Linked DNA regions of Homo sapiens: regions 2, 3, 4, 5 and 6 are each linked to region 1. Evidence: promoter capture Hi-C in human tissues and cell types (Jung and others, 2019). All regions are on one chromosome and are shown on one strand. The core of a region is centred on a gene start or on the middle of the fragment in contact, and the rest is flanking DNA. Distances in the headings are between cores, read along the strand shown. Region 1 holds the start of TIMM22 (translocase of inner mitochondrial membrane 22). Region 2 holds the start of LOC124903891 (a long non-coding RNA gene). Region 3 overlaps VPS53 (VPS53 subunit of GARP complex). Region 4 overlaps VPS53 (VPS53 subunit of GARP complex). Region 5 overlaps VPS53 (VPS53 subunit of GARP complex). Region 6 overlaps TLCD3A (TLC domain containing 3A).

The links. The method cuts DNA at HindIII sites, captures the fragments that hold promoters and counts their contacts. A contact is called where the count stands out against the background at its distance.
Region 2: a fragment that was not itself captured here is called in contact with the fragment with the promoter of TIMM22 in region 1 in 2 of the 25 tissues and cell types used here (dorsolateral prefrontal cortex and lymphoblastoid cells).
Region 3: a fragment that was not itself captured here is called in contact with the fragment with the promoter of TIMM22 in region 1 in 3 of the 25 tissues and cell types used here (H1 embryonic stem cells, bladder and thymus).
Region 4: a fragment that was not itself captured here is called in contact with the fragment with the promoter of TIMM22 in region 1 in 1 of the 25 tissues and cell types used here (lymphoblastoid cells).
Region 5: a contact is called between a fragment that was not itself captured here and the fragment with the promoter of TIMM22 in region 1, in 3 of the 25 tissues and cell types used here (dorsolateral prefrontal cortex, lymphoblastoid cells and mesenchymal stem cells).
Region 6: a fragment that was not itself captured here is called in contact with the fragment with the promoter of TIMM22 in region 1 in 5 of the 25 tissues and cell types used here (IMR-90 fibroblasts, aorta, dorsolateral prefrontal cortex and 2 more).

What each region holds. Positions count from the first base shown.
Region 1 is chr17:995,538-999,147 of GRCh38, reverse strand. It overlaps TIMM22 (translocase of inner mitochondrial membrane 22), which reads right to left and starts at 2,019. Exons shown (of 4, transcript NM_013337.4): 1 at 1,768-2,019; 2 at 173-369. The coding sequence starts at 2,005. RefSeq lists an enhancer at 1,306-1,997. The HindIII fragment of the contact is 16,003 bases long and covers 1-3,610 here.
Region 2 is chr17:554,903-558,512 of GRCh38, reverse strand. The region is part of intron 15 of VPS53 (VPS53 subunit of GARP complex); the gene reads left to right. It overlaps LOC124903891 (a long non-coding RNA gene), which reads right to left and starts at 2,629. Exons shown (of 2, transcript XR_007065571.1): 1 at 2,494-2,629; 2 at 2,173-2,297. The HindIII fragment of the contact is 3,663 bases long and covers 175-3,610 here.
Region 3 is chr17:600,445-604,054 of GRCh38, reverse strand. It overlaps VPS53 (VPS53 subunit of GARP complex), which reads left to right. Exons shown (of 22, transcript NM_001128159.3): 12 at 2,159-2,260. Among named protein-coding and RNA genes, the nearest start is that of VPS53-AS1, 80 kb to the right of the region's middle. RefSeq lists an enhancer at 1,768-2,967. The HindIII fragment of the contact is 3,119 bases long and covers 109-3,227 here.
Region 4 is chr17:666,054-669,663 of GRCh38, reverse strand. The region is part of intron 4 of VPS53 (VPS53 subunit of GARP complex); the gene reads left to right. Among named protein-coding and RNA genes, the nearest start is that of VPS53, 47 kb to the left of the region's middle. The HindIII fragment of the contact is 7,961 bases long and covers 1-3,610 here.
Region 5 is chr17:685,748-689,259 of GRCh38, reverse strand. All of the region lies in intron 4 of VPS53 (VPS53 subunit of GARP complex), which reads left to right. Among named protein-coding and RNA genes, the nearest start is that of VPS53, 27 kb to the left of the region's middle. The HindIII fragment of the contact is 7,720 bases long and covers 1-3,512 here.
Region 6 is chr17:737,264-740,873 of GRCh38, reverse strand. It overlaps TLCD3A (TLC domain containing 3A), which reads right to left. Exons shown (of 5, transcript NM_024792.3): 3 at 2,827-3,028; 4 at 274-369. Among named protein-coding and RNA genes, the nearest start is that of TLCD3A, 6.5 kb to the right of the region's middle. The HindIII fragment of the contact is 5,610 bases long and covers 1-3,610 here.

The DNA.
Region 1 (3,610 bases), core at 770-3,269:
CACAAAGTCTGCCACAGGGACTATTTTATGGAAGTTCAACCTAGAATGTATCTGATGCTTCTGATTTGCTTTCTAGTAACAACTTTCAAATGACTTTTAAAGAGCAATTTCTCTTTAAAAGTAATGAAATGGTGGCCCCAGCAAGGATTTCTTAGAAGGCAGAGACACTTACAGATTCTATCAAACACTCAGTACAAGAAAACATGGCTCCCACAATGGCGAAATTTTTGGCATAGGACATTCCTCTCTGCCCCATGTCTTTCAGCACTTCTTTTGCAGTCGGTGTACGGTAAGGATCCTTAGGGTCAAAGCCCACGTTGGTATCGATGCCAGCGGTAAACACCCCAAATGCACCTCCTAAGACAAATCCTAGAAGCAAACACAGAGATGAAGGTGTCTTTGGCATGTTTTCTGCATTACTCTATTGGGATCATCCTGGAAGGGACCATGCTTTTGGATGACCACCGGTGCAGAGGACACCCCCCTCTTGCCACTCAAACTCTCCACTTGCCTGGAGACTTGCAATCCAGGGTCTATGTTACTGACATCATCTTCTCCGTCTCTAAGATTTCTTCCTCCTGTCATTCCCTAACATTTCTCAAGATTCCATCTTTAACCCTCTATTCTCTCTACATTCTCTCATATGTAAACCAGCCACCCTCAACTTCAGCTATCAACTTTGCAAATCACTCTCTTGGCCACTGTGACATTCACAGTAATGCTTTACTGAGCACATGCCAGTATGCCACAGCCTCATTCATTCTTCACAATAATCCAGTGAGACAGATGCTATTAGCCTCTCCTTTCTATAAACTGAGGCTCAGAGAGGTTAAGCAACTTCTCCCAAGGCCACACAGCTACCTAATGGCAAATCCCACACTGCTGCCACATCTGTCCTTCCTGAGCCGGCTGGACATGTCCAGATGGATGCCCTCTCATGACCTCATGGTCAATATGAGTTTAATAAAATCATGGGCACCTCCCCTTCAACTTAAGGGAAAAACAGAAGGACAAGTGCAGACTTCGTCTCTCCTTGCTCGGGGCTGTCTAGTCACAATGGTCTTTCAGTTTTTCAAACCTCAAACAACTGCTGCCCTAGAGTCGTCTGCATGTGCATTTCCATATGTCTGCATCCTTCCTCTGCAGTGTTCCTGCTCAACATTCTTCTCCACATAGTATAATACAGGCCCCATGAAGACCAGGCTCTTGTCTCTTTCACCTGGCACGTGATATTGCTTAGGAACAATTTGTTGAAAGAATTATTTAAGAGAATGAATTTAAGGGAATGAACGGATGAATGAAGTCACCCACGTAATAACTTTTTGTTGTTGTTTTTGAGACGGAGTCTCGCTCTGTCGCCCAGGCTGGAGAGCAGTGGCACATCTCGGCTCACTGCAAGCTCCGCCTCCTGGGTTCAAGCGATTCTCCTGCCTCAACCTCCCGAATAGCTGGGACTACAGGCGCCCACCACCACGTCCAGCTAATTTTTTGTATTTTTAGTAGAGACGGGGTTTCACCGTGTTAGCCAGGATGTCATGTAATAACTTTCAGGCCCCAACCACAGCACCGATTCTCTAACCCAATTTTCATCAGGAAAGCCGGCCTGAGGGGGCAGGAGAGGTGACGCCCGATTCACGAACGAGGCGAGGGTGTGGTCAAGGTCAAGGCCCGCAGTCCCTCGCCTCCCAGGCGCGTGGTCTTCTCGGCAGAGATCCCCACTGCCGTCCAGGCCCTCAGCCTCCCAAGGGTCCCATCGCCCGGCCTCACCTCCCACGCAGGCCAGCGCAGCCTTGAAAGCGCAGCTTTCCATCGCCTTCTCGATCATCTTCTGCTCCTCACTCTTGGCTGGACTTGGGATCCCGCCCAGGCTCCCAGGCTCCAGGAGCCGGGGCTGACGCTTGTCACCCACCAGGTACTGCAGGAGCAGGCTGTACTGCAGCGGAGCTTCGGCGGAACCCGCTGTCTCAGGGGCCGAGCCTCCGGCATTGGGGGCGGCCGCCGCCATGACAGTCGCTGCCCAAGCAACCCTCGCGTCCTTCTCCCCGCAGCAGATTCGACAAGCGTCACGTTGCGGGCCCTGAGACTAGCCACTGTGATGCAACGGCAGATTCGCCGCAGGAGGAAGCCGCGGCCGCAACGCTCCTGGTGCGCACACCAGCGAGACCGCTATCATGTTTCCAAAAAGAAAGCCTCTTGTGAAAATGGAATTGGGCTTGGACAGCTTTCCCCATGTCACAGACAAACGAGATTCAGATTCACCAGAAAGCGCCCTCACGGTCGGGGCTGCAGCGCGGTGAGTACCGGGATTTGTAGTTCTAATCCGACACCCAACTACATTTCCCAGGAAGCGTTGCGCGTGCTCTCGCGCCTCGGCCCCGCGCGGGGCTCTTACGAGCTCCTGAGGGGAGCGAGGAGTGGCCGCGCGCTCCGGGGCTGCCGTGCTCCGGATCGCCGGGAGGGGACGCGCGAGCATTGTCGCTGCCCTTTCCACCTCGTGCTGTCATCGGGCGGTGAGGCGTTAAATCCCGTGGTCCCGGAAGGTGCGGTGAGAGGTGGATGCTTTGTAGATAAGCGTGAACTTGTGCTGTAAATGCACGGACCGGGCGCGGGGGCTCACGCCTGTCATCCAGCACTGTGGGAGGCCGAGGCCGGTGGATCACGAGGTCAGGAGTTCGAGACCAGTCTGACAAACATGGTGAAACCCCATCTCTACTAAAAATTAAAAAAATAAAAAATAAAAAAATTAGCTGGGCATGGTGGTGCACGCCTGTATTCTCAGCTACTTAGGAGGCTGAAGCAGGAAACCCCGTCTCTACTAAAAATATAAAAATTAGCCAGGTGGCGGCAGGCGCCTGTAATCTCAGTTACTCGGGAGGCTGAGACAGGAGAATCTCTTAAACCCGGGAGGTGGAGGTTGCAGTGAGCCAAGATCGCACCATCGCACTCCAGCCTGGGCGACAAGAGCAAGACTCCGTCTCAAAAAAAAAAAAAAAAAAAAAAAAATCCTAACTGACAGCATTTGCTGACTTGTGTGGTGTTAATATCCCCATCATGGCTGATTTCAAACTACCAAGCGAGGTCATCAGTCAGAATTGGGAAGACGTACAGCAGCATGTGGTTACATGGTGTTTCTATCACACAGATACAATCTATGGAAATAACCTCAACAGCATAGATAGGAGTACAGTGTAGTAAAATTTTTAGGAGGGGATGAGTTTTGAGCACATATTACCTATTTTTAGTGTAATTTATTATAAATGTATAGAATGTAATTTTTAATAATAACTGTGCTTAACAACCAGCTCAAAAACTCCTGATAATTTGTTGCCTTACTTTTTAAAATTACTCTTTTGAGACAGAGTCTTGCTCTGTCACCCAGGTTGGAGTGCAGTGGTGCAATCTCCGCTCACTGCAACCTGCACCTCCCGGGTTTGAGCGATTCTCCTGCCTCAGCCTCCCGACTAGCTGGGATTACAGGCACATGCCACCATGCCCGGCTAATTTTTGTATTTTTAGTAGAGACAAGGTTTCACCATGTTGGCCAGGCTGGTCTCAAACTCCTGACCTCAGGTGACCCACCCACCTCGGCCTCCCAAAGTGCTTGGATTCC
Region 2 (3,610 bases), core at 757-3,256, 440 kb after region 1:
ACGGGTTCCCATCACCACGCCTGGCTAATTTTTTTTTATTTTTAGTAGAGGCCGGGTTTCACTGTGTTAGCCAGGATAGTCTCGATCTCCTGATCTTGTGATCTGCCCGTCTTGGCCTCCCAAAGTGCTGGGATTACAGACGTGAGCCACTGTGAGTAGCTGGGACTACAGGCACCCGCTACCACACACAGCTAATTTTTTGTATTTTTAGTAGAGACGGGGTTTCACTGTGTTAGCCAGGATGGTCTCAATCTCCTGACCTCGTGATCCACTCACCTTGGCCTTCCAAAGTGCTGGGATTATAGGCGTGAGCCACCATGCCCAGCCAAAATTTTGCTTTTATAGATAATCCTGGCAGGGTACAGTGGCTCACGCCTGTAATCCTAGCATATTGGGAAGCCAAGGTGGAAGGATCGCTTGAGGCCAATAGTCCAAGACCAGCCTGGGTAACATAGTGAGACCTGGTCTTTACAAAAAATTTAAAAGTTAGTTGAGTGTGGTGGTACATGCCTGTGGTCTCAGCTACTTGGGAAGCTGAGGTTGGAGGATCGCTTGAGCCTGGGAGGTCAAAGCTGCAGTGAGCTATGATCACACCACTGCACTCCAGCCTGGGTGACAGAGTGAGACCCTGTCTCTAAAAAAAAAAAAAAAAAAAAAGATAATCCTTACAAAGAATGTCTTTCTGAATATAGCATCTTAAATGTTTTGCATTAGTTTTCTAGAACAGACTCTTAGAAGTTCTAGAAATAAGTTGAAGACCATTTTGATGACTGATGATACAAGTGGCCAATTATTTTTTATTTAGTGAAAATTGTTTTTATTGATTACAAAAGTAATACATTCTTAGCACCTTTATTGTGATCTCTAAATACAATTTTCCACTAAAAGAAACCAGAGATTCCTGGAGAAATGACTAATTCCAGGTCAAGGGCAGGAAATCTACAAGATGAATCAGAACATCATGTTACACAAAAAGCAAGAAAAATATCAAAGACTATTAGTGTCATCTCAAGAGGACCCAGGGAGATATAGTGGGTTGAAGTGTCCCCCCAACCCCAAAATATGTCCAAGTCCTAGGCCTTGGGACATGTAAATGTGACTTTATCTTGGTAAATGTAATTAAGTATCTCAAGATGAGATGGTCCTGGATTTAGGATTGGTGGGGGGCCTTATCTAATGACTGTTGTCCTTAGAAAGGAGAGAGAGATTGAACACACAGAGATACAGGGAAGAAGGCCGTGAGAAGGAGGCAGAGGCTGGAGTCAGACTTCTATGAGCCAAGGAACATCAAGGATTGCCAGCAAACACCCAAAGCTAGAAGAGAGGTGTAAATAGTTTTTTCCTCAGAGCTTCCAGAAGAGTGGGGGCGCGGTGGCTCATGCCTATAATCCCAGCACTTTGGGAGGCTGAGGAGGGTGGATCACTTGAGGTCAGGAGTTTAAGACCAGTCTCGTCAACATGGCAAAACCCCGTCTCTACTAAAAGAATACAAAAATTAGCCGGGTGTGGTGGCTTCTCACTTGGCAGTCTCATTCCCCAAGCCTCAGGTCCCCGCTTCAGTATCACCTCCTCAGAGAGCCCCTCCTGGCCACCCCCCTTCAGCAGAGAGGCCCTCCTGGCCACCCCCCTTCAGTAGGTAGCTCCCTTATTCCAGCACTGCCAAATTTATTTCCTAACACCACAAAACCGAAGTTACGTCTCGGCTGGCTTACTTCCTTATTATCTGGCGCCCCCATTAGTTTTAAGTTACATGCCAGAAAGTCTACTTTGTTCACCTCTGTTCATTAGCACCAAATACAATGCCTGGTACGTAATAAGTGCTTAATAAAGATCTCTTGAAGGAATAAAAGAGCCCACTCCTGAGATAATGGCATTAACCCATGATGATGCCAGAGCCCTCATGACCTCATACCTCTCAACACTGTGGCTTCAGGGATTAAGCTTATAACCCATAAACTTTGGAGAACACAATCAAACCACAGAACGATGTTATGAATTGCTATTGTAAATAGTTTTTAAAAAACATAAACTACACTTTTAAGGATACTTTTACATTTACAGAAAAATTGCAAAGATCGTTTGTATGGTTCCCATATACCACTTACCCAGTTTCCCATATTATTAACATTGATATGAAATATTTGTTACAATTAATGAACCAATAATGATGTATTATTGGTGTTGCTTTTAAATTTTATTTTCCAATTCCTTGTTGCTCAGATTCTTTTTGTTTAATATGGGGTCTCAATCTGTTGCCCAGGCTGGAGTGCGGTGGTTTGATCACAGCTCACTGAAACCTGGAACGAAAGCGATCCTACCCTCAGCCTCCCAAGTGGCTGGGACTACACTGGGACTTCAGGCACCTGCCACCATGCCTGGCCAGTATTTTTTTATTTTTTGTAGAGATAGGGTCTCACTGTGTTGCTCAGGCTGGTCTTGAGCTCCTGGGCTCAAGTGATCTTCTTGCCTCAGCCCCCAAAGAGTTGGGATTACCGGGTGAGCCACTGGGTCCAGCCTGCTCAGATTATTAAGTCTCTGGTTTCTTCTTCCATTTCCCTTTGCCCCCTCTGCAATCTTTTCTTAAAGAAACTGTGTTGTTTGCCCTGTAGATTTTCCCAAGTTTTGGATTTTCCTGATTGCACCCACGAGTATTAATGGACATTTTACTTTGTCTCGTATTTCCCATAAATTGGTAGTTAGATGTAGAAGCCTGAGCTGATTCAGATTCTTTTTTACAGAAAACTACATCATAATGATGTTTTGTACGTCTGTCATCAAGATACATAATGTTTGGTTGCTCTTTGTGTGATGTCAGCAGCCTCTGATGCTCAAAGCCCAGATCCATTATTCCATTAGGAGGTATAAAGAATGATACTCTGGCCGAGTGCAGGGGCTCACGCCTGTAATCCCAGCACTTTGGGAGGCCGAGGTGGGTGGATCACCTGAGGTCAGGAGTTCGAGACCAGCCTGGCCAACATAGTAAAACCCCCGTCTCTACTAAAAATACAAAAATTAGGGCCGGGCGTGGTGGCTCACGTCTGTAATCCCAGCACTTTGGGAGGCTGAGGCGGGTAGATCACGAGGTCAGGAGTTTGAGACCAGCATGGCCAACATGTGGCCAAAAAGTGAGGAGCCTGGAGGGCTTAGAAAGTGGGGGTGCGGCAAAGCAAGGCAGTGGGTCAGCAGGGCTGAGCAGGCCATGTTTCAGGGAGAGGAATAAGGAAGTGTGAAGTATGAAGGTCCTGAGGGCGAAGGACCCTGGTGTCTCCCAGAAATTTAAAAGGCCAGTGTAACTGAAGCCTAGCAGGCAAGGTGGAAAGTGGCAAGACGGGGCCAGAAAGCTGGGCAGGACCCAATTCATGGTTAGGAATTTGGATTTTATTTTCGGTGTCATAGGAAGAGGCTGCTGAAGAGTTTAAGCATGATAAGCCTGTGCCATAATTTGTTTTATCCTTTGTAAATACACATGTAGATTGTTTCCAGCTTTATGAGAACAGTATTGATCTGTTTTGTTCACTAAATAACTCTCTTATTCTGTTACACAGCCTGAACAAAGCGGGCTCTCATTAAATATTGGTTGAATTAATGAATGCTGCAAAAAATACTTGCA
Region 3 (3,610 bases), core at 419-2,918, 390 kb after region 1:
CACTGAATGATTTTGATCAAAGCTTTTAACTTCAGTTAGCTGACTTGCTTTTCATATCTACAAAGGACCAAAAGACTTAGAATCATAGTGACTCAGCTCAACAGCATAATCCCAGAGCCCACTGTTAAGCCAGTGGAATCAGGAGTCTAATGCTATTACCTAATTTAATTTTTTTATGGTTGTTGAAGATTAAGCTTGGTAGATTCCCTTTATTACTATTCCTCTCTCTCTAAAATATCAGCAGCCCTTAAGAAGACAACTCAAGCTTAGAAATACTGCTTTCTAACAAGAGCTGTACATTTTTAAGGATTTTTTTTCTCTCATGTTAGGTAAAGAAGCCAAAGTTTGGAGTGTGCAAATGTGAAATACTTGCTTGGGTGTTAGACCATATTGTTTATCACCAGGATACCACAAAAACCATCATCTTACTACTGATTACCTCGAGCTAATGCCATCACCACAAGGCTTTGTCATGCACCGAGGCTGTATCTGTCCACATCACTTGCATCCAAGTGTTTTGGCCAAAAAATAAGCAGTTATTAAATGACTGTTAGCAGTATTGTCTTAAACCAAAAACCAGACGCAGGTGTAGTGCTTTTGTGCAATGTATTTATTTTATTGTATTTTATTTTTGAGACGGAGTCTCGCTTTGTCACCCAGGCTGGAGTGCAGTGGTGCCATCTTGGCTCACTGCAACCTCCACTTCCTGGATTCAAGCAATTCTTGTGCCTCAGCCTCCCAAGTAGCTGGGATTACAGGCGCCTACCACCACGCTGCTAATTTTGGTATTTTTAGTAGAGACAGGCTTTCACCATGTTGTTCAGGCTGGTCTTGAACTCCTGACCTCAAGTGATCCGCCGCCTCAGCCTCCCAAAGTGCTGGGATTCCAGGTGTGAGCCACTGCACCCGGCCTTTGTGTAAGTTTTGGTTTTATTTTTGTTTGTAATAGCTTCAGATGGTGTCCTGGCACTTGGCAAAGTTATTCACGCTATAGTCCATCTGCTGTCCCTTTTGGCTTAGAGATTAATTCAGATTGACCCACTGGTATTGGCTAAAATACCAAGTACATTTAGAAACTCCCTCTCCATTAACTTCTCGTCTCCAGAGAGCCATGCCTTGCCCCCTTCCCTCGTCCCCAGCACCAAGCAGTCCCTCTTTTCTGTTTGTCCAGTTGGCCTCCTTTCTGCTAAAGCCTTCAGCTCCCAGGCATAAACAACATCTCTAGGTGAAAACTGTAAAGGAATTCCAGAGAGCTGCCTTGATTCTGTAGTTGTACTGGAATTAACGTCATCAGTGACCCTTGTGTGTATCATGTGCTGCTTCTAGGGTTTCACATTTGATCCTCCAGATAGTCCTGTGACTACATCCTCATTCAGCAGATGAAGTTACTGAGGCTCAGAGAAGCTGGGTGATAGGGCCAGTGCCGCACGGTTGGAGCTACAGCTACCATGCCTCCTGCCTGCAGCCTTCCCACTGGCCCATGTTTCCACTCCGTGATGTATTTTGAAATAGTGGTCATATTTGGAAGCTGAGAAGTCGATTTTCTCAAGGAGATTTCTGTTGTGGTTGTTGTAATGGGGCTTACTTGGGAAGAGACATCTGTTAATCTAGAACACATGAGATTAGTTTTGTAGTTTGTTCTTGCGTTGAAATCCATCTGGCACTTTGATTCATTTCTATTTACTGAGGACCTGCTACATGCTAGGCACTGAGATAGGATGGGGAACAAGACAGACACAATCTCTGCCATCATGGAGGCCAGAAGGGAAAAGACAAATAATGGGCAATTGCTATATTTTAATAAATGCCTGGGTAGGAGACATGTAGCTTGGTTTGGGAACACGTGTCAGGGACATCTGACCCAAACCTGACAGATGGGAAAGGCTTCCCAGCAGAACGGAGTTCCGGTTTGAGGACTGAGGATGCGTGAGCGTTTTAGCCAGATTCGAGTTGGGGCGGGGTGGTCGGGGAGGTTGCAGGAAGAGGGAAAGCACTGTGAAGGCCCGGAGGCAAGAATGTGGTCTGGGTTGCCTCAGTTCTTCTTTATCAGATAGCGTGCATGACTTCCTTGTTGGAGACACCTAGAAAAAGCAGATCAATGGGGAAAGCTATTGAATATGCTCAGAAAACACTTCTCTTTCTCATATCTACCTAACAGAAAAAGCTTGAGTCTCCACCCCCATCTACCAATCCCTTCCTGGAAGATGAGCCAACACCAGAGATGGAGGAACTGGCAACGGAGAAAGGAGATTTAGATCAAGTAAGTCTGGTTTGCGTCACCACGGGTAACCTACCCAATGTGCGTTTCTGAAAATCGGTCTGCTTGCTCCAGATACGATCCTTTGGCTCTTGGCCACGTTCAGAGATGACAGCTGTTGTGGTCTTTACAGAAGGCCTTTATCTGAAAGTGCATGTAGAAAACTCCATGAAAGGGCAGACTTCCCTGCCCACATCTCTGCTCCTGAAGAGCCCCGCCTCCAGGACACACACAAGCTTCATTAGCCACTGTGGTGGGGCCAGGAGAGTTCTGCTCTGCCTCATTCAGCATCTCCTGAGCTTGTCAGCTGAGTTTTTGGTTTGACTGTCATCTGGTACAGTGATGATGAGAGAGGCTGAACAATCCCCGGGAAGCCAGCAGCACCCTCGGCTAGGAGAGGCCTCCATGCAGTGTAAGCTGATCACTTTAGGTCTGGAAGCCATTGGGGAGGCCTGGAAATGTCAAGGTGGCCAGTGGCATATTTGAAGAGTTACTTTTCAGAGCACACTAACACTTTAATTTCCTTTGGATTTTTCTGTCCAAGTCTAAATTTCCTCTCCCTTCATCCTACAGAATGGTGTTTTTGGTTAACTGCCATGTTATGACAAGGGAGGTTAGAGCAATAAATCAGAACGTTTCCCTTCTAGATTAGTGATCCCTGTTTTTAATTGTCTACACTTGGCTGCTGGAGGATTATTTTACGGTATTGTTTTGCTCCAGACACCACCAAAAGGGAGGCTGGCTGGGAGGACCAGCTCTGAGAAACCTGTAACCATGTACTTTGCAGCTAGCCCTGCATTCATTCTTTCCCAGCACCACAAGGGCAGGAGCCAAGAGAGCAGAGCTTCCAGGAGCAGTTCTGAAATGATGCAATCAAATGTGTCTGGTCCCTTGATTAAATGATTGTAATAGAATGGATACTCACACTTTTATAGTCCTTTGCACTTTTAAATTCTTTTACATGCTTTATGTTATCGTCACAATTCCTGCCTCTTGCTTTATAGGTGATGAAACTGCAGCTCAGAGAGGTTAAGTGGTTGGCCCAGGGTTGCACAGCTTGGAAGTGGAGGAGCTTAAACTGGAAGCCAGGTCTCAATGTCAGAAACTAGAATTCCTTTCCCAGTGCTATTTTGTTGATGGACTCATGTCTCATTGAAGAGTAGAGGACATAGAACTGAATCTCAGGAATAGAAGTAAATGAACAAAACTGATGGGACATCTTGAGGAGGCTCCATCCCGGAGATGTATTTATAGGATTAGATGCAGTTGATTTAAAGCCGTCATAGTATTGACTGGCATGGAAGAAAACAAACAGTTTCTTGTAACTAATTAAATGCAGTTCTCAATTGCATT
Region 4 (3,610 bases), core at 304-2,803, 330 kb after region 1:
CCTCAGCCTCCCAAAGTGCTGGGATTACAGGCATGAGCCATCGCACCTGGCCTAATTTTTTTTTTTTTTTTAAGACAGAGTATGTCTCTGTCACCCAGGCTGGAGTGCAGTGGCGCAATCTTGGCTCACTGCAGCCTCCGCCTCCTGGGCTCAAGTGATTCTCATGCCTCAGCCTCCGGAGTAGCTGGAACTATAGGCATGTACTAGCACACACAGCTAATTTTTTTAGTATTTTTAGTAGAGACGGAGTTTCGTCATGTTGGTCAGACTGGTCTTGAACTCCTGGCCTCAAGTAATCCACCGTCAGCCTTGCAGCGTGCTGGGATTATAGGTGTGAGCTACTGCCCCCCCGGCCAACCACGTTTTTATTTTAAAAAGTGTCTAGGGACAGTGCCAGAGTGATTCTTTCAGCACATTTCTGATTAGCCAGGTAGTGAAGGTATTTTTGTGTTTCTTAAAAAAACCTTAACTTCTTGTAGGACCCATGATTCTTCCAGTTGCAAAACAATCTTTCTATATGACTCATGATCAGAGGTTAGATGTCAAATATTAGGGTGTGTGTTGAGAATGGACTTGCCTGATAGCACCAGTGCTTCAGAGGAGTTTTTAAACTCTGCAAAATGAATTATAGTACATTTCCCCAACTTCAGTACCTTATTAAAACAAGCAAAAGTATTCCAGCCCGAAAAAAGTCTGGCACATAGTTTATCTATCTTGGAGACTGTGACATGTAAGATTGTGTGAGTCTTATTTGTTTGCTGGAAGAAAAAAGCGATACCTTCAGCAGAGACAGTTCTGGTAGGATGCCAGGTTTAATGTAAGAGAGAAAGGGATAGAAACCCTTTCTCTGAGATAGGATCATGCAGACTTCTTCATATGTGAGACCTAAGTGTATAACTTAGCCCCTTTTTTGCCTTTCTTAGCTGCATGTCATATGTTTTAGGGTGTTTGTCTAGAACACAGTAGCTATGGTCCCATTAGCATGTCACCATAACATGACATGACCTGCAGTATCACAGAATTCCATGTGAGCTGTGTCGAAAAAGATCAGTCCTTTCTAGTGGTCAGTTGCCTACAGAGGCCTCTGTTGCACTTTTTACTCCACGATTGAAACTTTTTTAGAATTTACTGATCCCATGTAGCATCTTGGATATTAGACTCTGTTTAAGCCAAATAGAGAATACTTACAGAAAGCATGAAGCTGTGATTTTGAACCACTGCTCATGGTTGGGCCTGAAGTTAGAGGAATGGTTATGAGCGCACTTATTCAGAGCGGTAGCCTCAGCACCAGCACTCTTACAGGTGCACCATGATACTTTTAATCAGTGGGCAATATTTGTCAAGGTCCCACTGTGCCATAGCCTTGCTTAGGTGCTGTAGGTGAGGTGACCATATGATTTATCACCAGAGTCACTTTGAGAAGGAGAGGGAGCTGTTAATAACTATACTGAATCATAAACGCAGCGTGTCCCCGGTAAACCAAATGGATGATTGGCTCAGCTATGGGCTCTATAGGAGTGCTGTTCATATCCTTGGTCCCCATTCTAAAGGATACTTATAACCCTGCTAAAGGGCTAATACTCATACACTAAACCAGTGGTCCCCAACCTTTTTGGCACCAGCGAGCAGTTTTTTGGAAGACAGTTTTTCCATGGACCAGGGAGGGGGACATGGTTTCAGGATGAAACTGTTCCACCTCAGATAATCAGGCCTTAGTTAGATTCTGTTAAGGAGCTTGCAACCTAGATCCCTCGCGTGTGCAGTTCACAGTAGGGTTCGCGCTCCTATGAGAATCTAATACCGCTGCTGATCTGAGGAGGGGGAGCTCAGAAGATCATGCTCACTCACTTGCCCACCGCTCACCTCCTGCTGTGCGGCCCAGTTCCCAACAGGCCACGGACTGGTGCTGGCCCACGGCCCAGGGCTTGGGGTCCCCTGCACTAAACAATTCAAGAACATTATGTTTAAAAAAGTCCTCTTCTGTAATTAACCCATTGCCCCCCCCCCCAGAACATTATGTTTAAAACAGTCCTCTTCTGTAATTAACCCATTGCCCCCTCCGCAGAACATTATGTTTAAAACAGTCCTCTTCTGTAATTAACCCATTGCCCCCCCCAGAACATTATGTTTAAAACAGTCCTCTTCTGTAATTAACCCATTGCCCCCCCCAGAACATTATGTTTAAAACAGTCCTCTTCTGTAATTAACCCATTGCCCCCCCAAATAAATTTCTCTCCTGCTAAATCACTCCCAAGCAGACGTATGCAAGCATTTCTCATCTTTAAAAATTACTCCCTTTACGCCATCTTTTGCCCTATTTTTCTTCCTTTCTCATAGCAAAAACTTCTTGAAAAAAAAAGTCTATACCAGGGTCAGCAAGCTTTCTGTTAAGGGCTGGATAGTAAATATTTTAGCCTTTACTGACCATATGGTCTCTGTTGTAACTATTTATCTCTGCCATTGTGTGGCAAAAGTCCCCATAAACAATACTTAAACAAATGAGTTTGGTTTAAGTATTATTAATGAGTTTCGGTCCAAAAACACATTGTTTACAAAAACAGGTGGCAGACGTGGCAGACTGGCTTCAGCCCACAGGCCATCATTTGTGGCCTGCTCTGTGATCACAGCCTCTACTTCATGTCATCGCTGTCCATTCCCTTGACTGCATTGAGACTGCTCTTGTCAAGGTCACCAACAACTTCCCTGTTGTCAAAATCAGTAGCAGCTGTCTTCATTTTTTTTTTTGAGATGGAGTCTTGCTCTGTCGCCTAGGCTGGAGTGCAATGGCACCATCTTGGCTCACTGCAGCTTCCGTTTCCTGGGTTCAAGCAATTCTCCTACCTCAGCCTCCTGAGTAGCTGGGATTACAGGTGCACACCACCATGCCTGGCTAATTTTTGTATTTTTAGTAGAGACAGGGGTTTCACCATGTTGGTCAGGCTGGTCACAAACTCTTGACCTCATGATCCACATGAGTTTTTTGTTGTTGTTGTTGTTTTGAGATGGAGTTTTGCTCTTGTTGCCCAGGCTGGAGTGCAGTGGCACGATCTTGGCTCACTGCAACCTCTGCCTCCTGGGTTCACGCGATTATCCTGTCTCAGCCTCCTGAGTAGCTGGGATTACAGGCGCCTGCCACCACGCCCGGCTAATTTTTGTATTTTGAGTAGAGACAGGGTTTCATCATATTGGTCAGGCTGGTCTTGAACTCCTGACCTCAGGTCATCCACCCGCCCTGGCCTCCCAAAGTGCTGGGATTATAGGCCTGAGCCACTGCGCCCAGCCTCTTACATGAGTGTTTAACAACAGAAGGCACAATCACTCTTTCCTTCTCCTTCAAACACTTCTGTTTGGCTTCTGTAACACCCATCGTCCCTGATTTTTTCTCATGTCACTGGTGGTTTTTCTCTGCATCTCTGCTTTTTTTTATTTTAGACTTCTGAATATTGGCATGCCCAAGGGTCAGCCCTGTGCCATCTTTTCTTCTCTTGTGTATTCTGTCTTCCTAGGTGACTTCTAATCTTACAGACTTACATATCATCTCTAAAGTAATGACTTCTGAATTTAAATCCCAACCTATCACCTCTCTTCCAAGCTCCAGAATCTTATGTCC
Region 5 (3,512 bases), core at 1-2,500, 310 kb after region 1:
GTGGGATTTTGAATTTGTCATTGTCAGCTCACTAGAAGGAGACTTTATATTCTTATCCTCCCTCACTTTAAATTGATCCTTTCTCTCATCCTCTCTTGGGAGGAAAATGAAGCCCATTGATTGATAAAAATTGAAGAAAGTAATTGGTATTAGTATTAAAGGGACCACAAATAGTTTGGAAAAAAATGGCAATTGCTACTTGCTTCTTCCTACTAAAACATACCACAGCTAAAGCGACTGAGCTTTTAGAGTATGGCCTCGAAGTTTCCCATTAGTGGCCAAGATTGGCTGGACATTTTTTGTTTCTTTTCTGTTATTATTTTTTGCGTTGTACTTTTCAGCATGTCTGCAAATAACACTAAACTTCAGGAATTGCTGAGGTTTGGACATGACCTGGGAGTGCCCTGAACACCGTGATCTGTGGGGCAGCCCTGGAGTCGGGTTGTTAGATCAGCCTTTTGTAGGGGCAGAGTTTTGATTCGGGCTCACAGTCATTTCCCAACCAGGATTTCTTACGTCTAGTGCAGAGGTCAAGGTTGGCTTGCCTTTGTCAAGTTGAATCCGGTGACTGTTCATTTTGCCTGCTTCTAGAGTGCTACTGGTTGTAGTTGAGGCGGGGCGGGCGACTGTTCATTTTGCCTGCTTCTAGAGTGCTACTGGTTGTAGTTGAGGCGGGGACTCATAAAATGTCCGTTAACTGTTTAACAATGTAGTGCAACTGGGTTTGGCCTCACTACCATTCTTCATCCTGTTTATTGCACACAAGCCTTGTGTATTAGTCCGTTCTCACACTGCTATGAAGAAATACCTTAGACGGGGTAATTTATAAAGGAAAGAGGTTTAATTGACTCACATTTCTGCAGGGCTGGGGATGCCTCAGGAAACTTACAATCATGGTGGAAAGGGAAGCAAACCCATCCTTCTTCACAAGGTGGCAGGAGAGAGGAAGAATGAGAGCTGAGCGAAGGGGGAAGCCTCTTACAAAACCATCAGATCTTGTGAGAACTTACTATCACGTGAATAGAATGGGAGAAACCACCCCGTGGTTCAGTGACTTCCCACCAGGTCCCTCCTATGACATGTAGGGATTTGGGTGGGGACACAGCCAAATCATATCACCTTGATAGCGCTTTTTTGGCAGGGAGACATGTCTGCGGCATATTTGGAACACTTTGCCACGTATCCTCTAAAATCCCTCATTTTTAGAAAAGCTATAAGGAATCCAAATAGCTATCTTCTCTCCTCTATGTACAGTGAAGGACTGGGCATTTTATTTCAATTCTCTAAGGATTGGTGTAGTTAGATATCTTCAGTGATGTAACATTGGATGGCATCTTGGTAAAGTGAAAAAAACTTGAGCTTTGAATTTAAATTTTGTCTCTGCTGTTATCTGTGTGACCTTGGACAAGATATTTAACTTTCCATCTGTGACATGGAGATAATAATACGTACCTCAGGGTTAGGGGGGATTAGAATTAATATACTTTATTTTATTTATCCACTTATTTATTTATTTGTTTTTGAGACAGGGTCTTACTTTGTTGCCCAGGCTAGAGTGGAGTGGTGCAATCACAGCTCGCTGCGCCCTCAACCTCGTGGGCTCAAGTGATCCTCTCACTTCAGCGTCCCGAGTAGCTGGGACCACAGGCACATGCCACCATGCGCATCTTTTTTTTTTTTTTTTTGAGACTGAGTCTTGCTCTCTCTCCAGGCTGGAGTGCATTGGTGCGATCTTGGCTCACTGCAGCTTCTGCCTCCTGGGTTCAAGCAATTCCCCTGCCTCAGCCTCCTGAGTAGCTGGGACTACAGGCATGTGCCACCACGCCCGGCTAATTTTCTGTATTTTAGTGGAGATGGGGTTTCCCCATGTTGGCCAGGATGGTCTCGATCTTCTGACCTCATGATCTGCGTGCCTCAGCCTCCCAAAGTGCTGGGATTACAGGTATGAGCCACCGCACCTGGCTTTTTTTTTTTGAGCTGGAGTCTTGCTGTGTCACCCAGGCTGGAGTGCCGTGTTACGATCTCTGCTCACTGCAACCTCCGTCTCCTGGGTTCAAGTGATTCTCCCTGCCTCAGCCTCCCAAGTAGCTGAGATTACAGGCGACCACCACCACGCCTGGCTAGTTTTTATATTTTTGGTAGAGACAGGGTTTCACCATGTTGGCCAGGCTGGTCTTGAACTTCTGATCTCAGGTGATCTGCCCACCTTGGCCTCTCAAAGTGCTGGGATTACAGGCGTGAGCCACTGCGCCCAGCTAATGTAATTTTTAAGTATTGTGTAGATGAGGTCTCGCTATGTTGCCCAGGCTAGTCTCAAACTCCTGGCCTCAAGCAATCCTTCTGCCTCAGCCTCCTAAAGTGCTGGGATTACAGGCATGAGCCACCACATCTGGCCTAGAATAAATGTATTTTAAAACACCTTTTTTGCACAATGTTGGGCTCACTCATGTTTAGTAAATGGCAGGAACACCAGTGCTGCTGATACACAGTCCACTGGAATTTCAGTTTTCCTAGTTCCGTGCATCCAGGTATTTGTCGAGTTCCTGTGGCTTTTCCGTCAGCTCCATCAGCTCCTCTCCAGCCCCACTGCTGTGCTTTAAAGCAACTCCAGGTTTACTTGTTCTGAATTATCCCAGGCCCCTTACTGCCTTCAGCGTGCTGTTCTCTGTGAATAAAAATGGCGGCACAGCTTACCTATGGTCCAGAATATCTGCTGTGGCAACAGTGGTGGTCAAAGGTTCATTTCTCTTGTCCTGTCTTCAAGACCTCCATTAGATGTTTGCCTGGCGTGACATGCAATATCACCCTATAGTTAAAATAAACATTCCACTTGACAACAGAATTTATTATTTGTATTGTTTTTGAAATTTGAGACTGCAGATAGATTTTTTTTCATTTCTAGTTTTTATAACTTCCAAATTCTTCTTTTTTTTCTTCTTAGAGACAGGGTCTCACTCTGTCATTCAGGCTGGAATGTAATGGCAGGATCGTAGCTCACTCTAGCCTTGAACTCCTGGGCTCACGTGATCCTTCCACCTCAGCCTCCCAAGTAGCTAGGACTACAGGTGCACACCACTATGCCTGACTGTTTTAAAACACTTTTTGTAGAGATGGAATCTCACTGTGTTGCCCAGGCTGGTTTAGAACTCCTGGCTTCAGGTGATCCTCCCACCTACGCTTCCCAGAGTGCTGGAATTACAGGCATGAGCCACTGCAACCAGCCAATTCTCTTCTCTCTCTGTTTTTTTTTTTAGAGACAGGGTCTCGCTCCAGGGTCATCCAGGCTGGAGTGTGGCGTGCATAGCTCACTGTCTCAAACTCCTGGCCTCAAACGATCCTCCCACCTCAGACTTCCAAGTAGGTAGGACTACAAGTGCATGTCACCATGTCTGGCTAATTTTTTAATTTAAAAAGTTTTTTTTTGTAGTGATGGGGTGTTCCTTTATTGCTCTGGCTGGTCTTGGACTCCTTACCTCAAGCGATCTTCCTGCCTCAGCCTCCTGAGTGGCTGG
Region 6 (3,610 bases), core at 712-3,211, 260 kb after region 1:
CCTGGCACTAGGGATTTCTCCACACCCACCATCTCCGAAGGAAAAGCAGAATCCACTCCCTCCCACACTCTTTCTGCCATTTCATTCATGCATGCCTGAATCAGAACCCTCACTCTCTCTGCCATTCATTCATACATGCCTGAATCAGAACCTTCACTCTCTCTGCCATTCATTCATACATGCCTGAATCAGAACCCTCACTCTCTCTGTCATTTCATTCATACATGCCTGAATCAGAACCCTCACACTCTCTGTCATTTCATTCATACATGCCTGAATCAGAACCCTGCCCAGCGACACAAACGGAGTGCTCAGTTCTGCCGTGAAGATGCAGCCGACAAAGAAGTCCCCAAGGTCTCCCCGGAGCCTCTGCGGATGACGAAACGAAAAGGGGAAGTAAGTGGAGGTTAAGAAACCACCAGAAGGAAAATTCCAACGAGGGCTACTGAAAAGGGTAACTGTGACGGGCAAAGGACGCTCAATAGGCAAGCGCAGACTACTGTACCGCTGCTTCCGTGGCAACAGCACTTTGATGGTCCAAGCCCTAGGATCCAGAGGCAAATTCAGACAGGATGACGGCGTCCCACACCAAGCTCTGAATTTTGATGACAGCCGGAAGGAAGGCTGCAAGCCTACTTTTGTGTATCGAACTTAGTCATGCCAAGACACTCAGCCTGTTTGGTTCAACAAAATGTGCCAGGCCCTGTGCTAGATGTTAGGGTCTCAAAGCACCCTAGATGTTCTGGTTCCTAGATGGTAGGTCCCAGACACTTCTTAAAGAATTTAATGCACGTTACCCTTATTTATTTATTTTATTTTTATTTTTTGAGACGGAGTTTTGTTCTTGTTGCCCAGGCTGGAGAGCAATGGCGTGATCTCAGCTCACTGCAACCTCTGCCTCCCGGGTTCAAATGACTCTCCTGCCTCAGGCTCCTGAGTACCTGGAACTACAGATGTACAGCATCACACCCGGCTAATTTTTGTATTTTTAGTAGAGATGGGGTTTCACCATGTTGGCCAGGCTGGTCTCGAACTTCTGACTGGGATTACAGGCATGAGCCACCTCGCCCGGCCTCTTTTTTCAAGAAAGCAGTAAGCATGGTAAAATATCAGCTCTGCCACTTAGTACCACTGAGAGATATAAGAATACTCTTAGAGCCCCAGTTTCTTCATCTACAGCATAAGACTAATAGCTTCTAATATTTAGCAAGCTATGAACTTTTAAATCACATGCCTGGCAGGGCGCGGTGGCTCACGCCTATAATCCCAGCACTTTGGGAGGCTGAGACGGGAGGATCCCTTGAGCCCAGGAGTTCAAGATCAGCCTGGGCCTCATAAGGAGACCCCCATCTCTTTATTTAAAAAATAAAATAAAACTACATGCCGGCCAAGAGCAGTGGCTCACGCCTGTAATCCCAGCACTTTGGGAGGCTGAGGCAGGTGGATCACCTGAGGTCAGGAGTTTGAAATCAGCCTGACCAATATGGTGAAACCCCGTCTCTAATAAAAATATAAAAATTAGCCAGGCATGGTGGCGTGCATCTGTAAACCCAGCTGCTTGGAAGGCTGAGGCAGGAGAATCACTTGAACCCGGGAGGCAGAGGTTGCAGTGAGCCATTGCACTCCAGCCTGGGCAACAAGAGCAAAACGCCATCTCAAAAAAATGAATAACTAAATAAATGAATAATTAAAAAAAAAAACGCATGCCTTCCCCTGGCCAGGCACTCAAGAGTGAGGAATTTCCCCTCAGCTTTCCCATTGCTTTTCTTTGTTGGGTGGGCTTTTATGGGGAAATGGATCTGGGGAGAAAGTAGGAGGCTATTTGCTTTGAGAATCTGTGTTTTGTGACCTAAGAATAATCCACACAGTGCTCTCTGGCACTGTTATGTTGCTTTGTATTATATTTGTATTTTATATTGTTTTTATCTTGTATTGAACTAAGGATAGAACCTCTGACAAACGCTAGGGAATCACAGAGCGCTGGGGGTTTGTTAAAAAGAATGTTGGGGCCGGGTGCAGTGGCTCGCGCCTGTAATCCCAGCACTTTGGGAGGCCTAGGCAGGAGGATCACTTGAGTCCAAGAGTTTGAGACCAGCCTGGGCAACATGGAGAAACTCTACAAAAATTACAGGAATTAGCTGGACGTTGTAGTGTGTGCCTGTGTTCCCAGCTTCCTGGGAAGCAGAGGCAGGAGGATCACTTGAGGCCAGTAGTTTGAGGCTACAGTGAGCTGTGATCCAACAACTGCACTCCACCCGGGGTGACAGAGTGAAACCCTGTCTCAAAAAAGAAAAAGTATGTTGATGTTGATGTTGGTAAGGAGGATCATGAACGTTTCATGTGTAATGGTGTTCCTCCACTATTCACCTGGGGGAGGTGGCTCTGAAGCAGCAGGCACAAGGAGAATGGGTGCCTATGAGTGGCAAAGAAAAGAGGGGCAATCCCGACTCCTAAGTAACGGTCAAGACATCCAGCTCAGGCCGGGCGCAGTGGCTCATGCCTGTAATCCCAGAACTTTGGGAGGCCGAGGCGGGCGGATCACTTGAGTTCAGGAGTTTGAAATCAGCCTGGCCAACATGGCAAAACCCCATCTCTACTAAAAATACAAACATTAGCCGGGCGTGGTGGTGGGCACCTGCAATCCCAGCTACTCAGGAGGCTGAGGCAGGAGAATCGCTTGAACCCGGGAGGCGGAGGTTGCAGTGAGCTGAGATCACACCACTGCACTCCAGCTGGGGCGGCAGAGTGAGACTGTCTCAGAAAAAAAAAAAAAAAAAGACACCCAGCTCAACCCAGCTGCTGGTCTGCTGTCCTGGAAGGCCATACCTGTGCGACTGGCACAAGGACAAAGAGAATGACCGCATGATGTGTGATCATGAGGCGGTTTCGACTTAGGAAGTTTCGAAGAGTGAGGGAGGGCGCACGGTTCTGGTCTCTGGTTCGGCACCATTCACAGAGGTACATGGCGTACGAGTCATAGATCATGTATGGAATCAGAAACCACACATATTCCCGGGCAAGCCAGTGCCTGAAAGAAAGCATATGAATGGCCCGTGAAATCATTGTGGATATCCATTATGAAGGCTCACAGCCAAGCTTGGTGCTTGATCAGCTATTATTATTCCAAATACTTTACAATAAAGATGTTGAAACTGATAAACAGGGAGAGTAGACCACTTGCTCTCAGTTTCAGGGCCAATTCGTGAGTGTCAAAGGCAAAAAGCAGGCATTCACTCAGCCCTGCCTGTTGAAGCAGCTTGCTGTCACTACTTGCCTGACTTAGCTACTAATTTGTAGTAGATGTTCTGGCATTTTGTGATAAAACTGATTTTGATATAGATAGATATACAAATGATTCAACGGCCCCACCAAGAAGCTGGTTTGGAAAGTGTCCCAAATCACAAATCCAACATTTCTAGTTTAACTCCTTAGCTGCTCAACAGTTGGGGGTTTTACTAACTTAAATCCTGGAACCTGTGAGTTTTCTCTTGTCTGCATGCAACCCCACTCTATGGAGTTTCTGGGAGGCAACCCTGGCCATTTTCTTTACAATTCTAGAGCTGGCCGGGTTCGGTGGCTCACACCTGTAATCTCAGCACTTTGGGAGGCT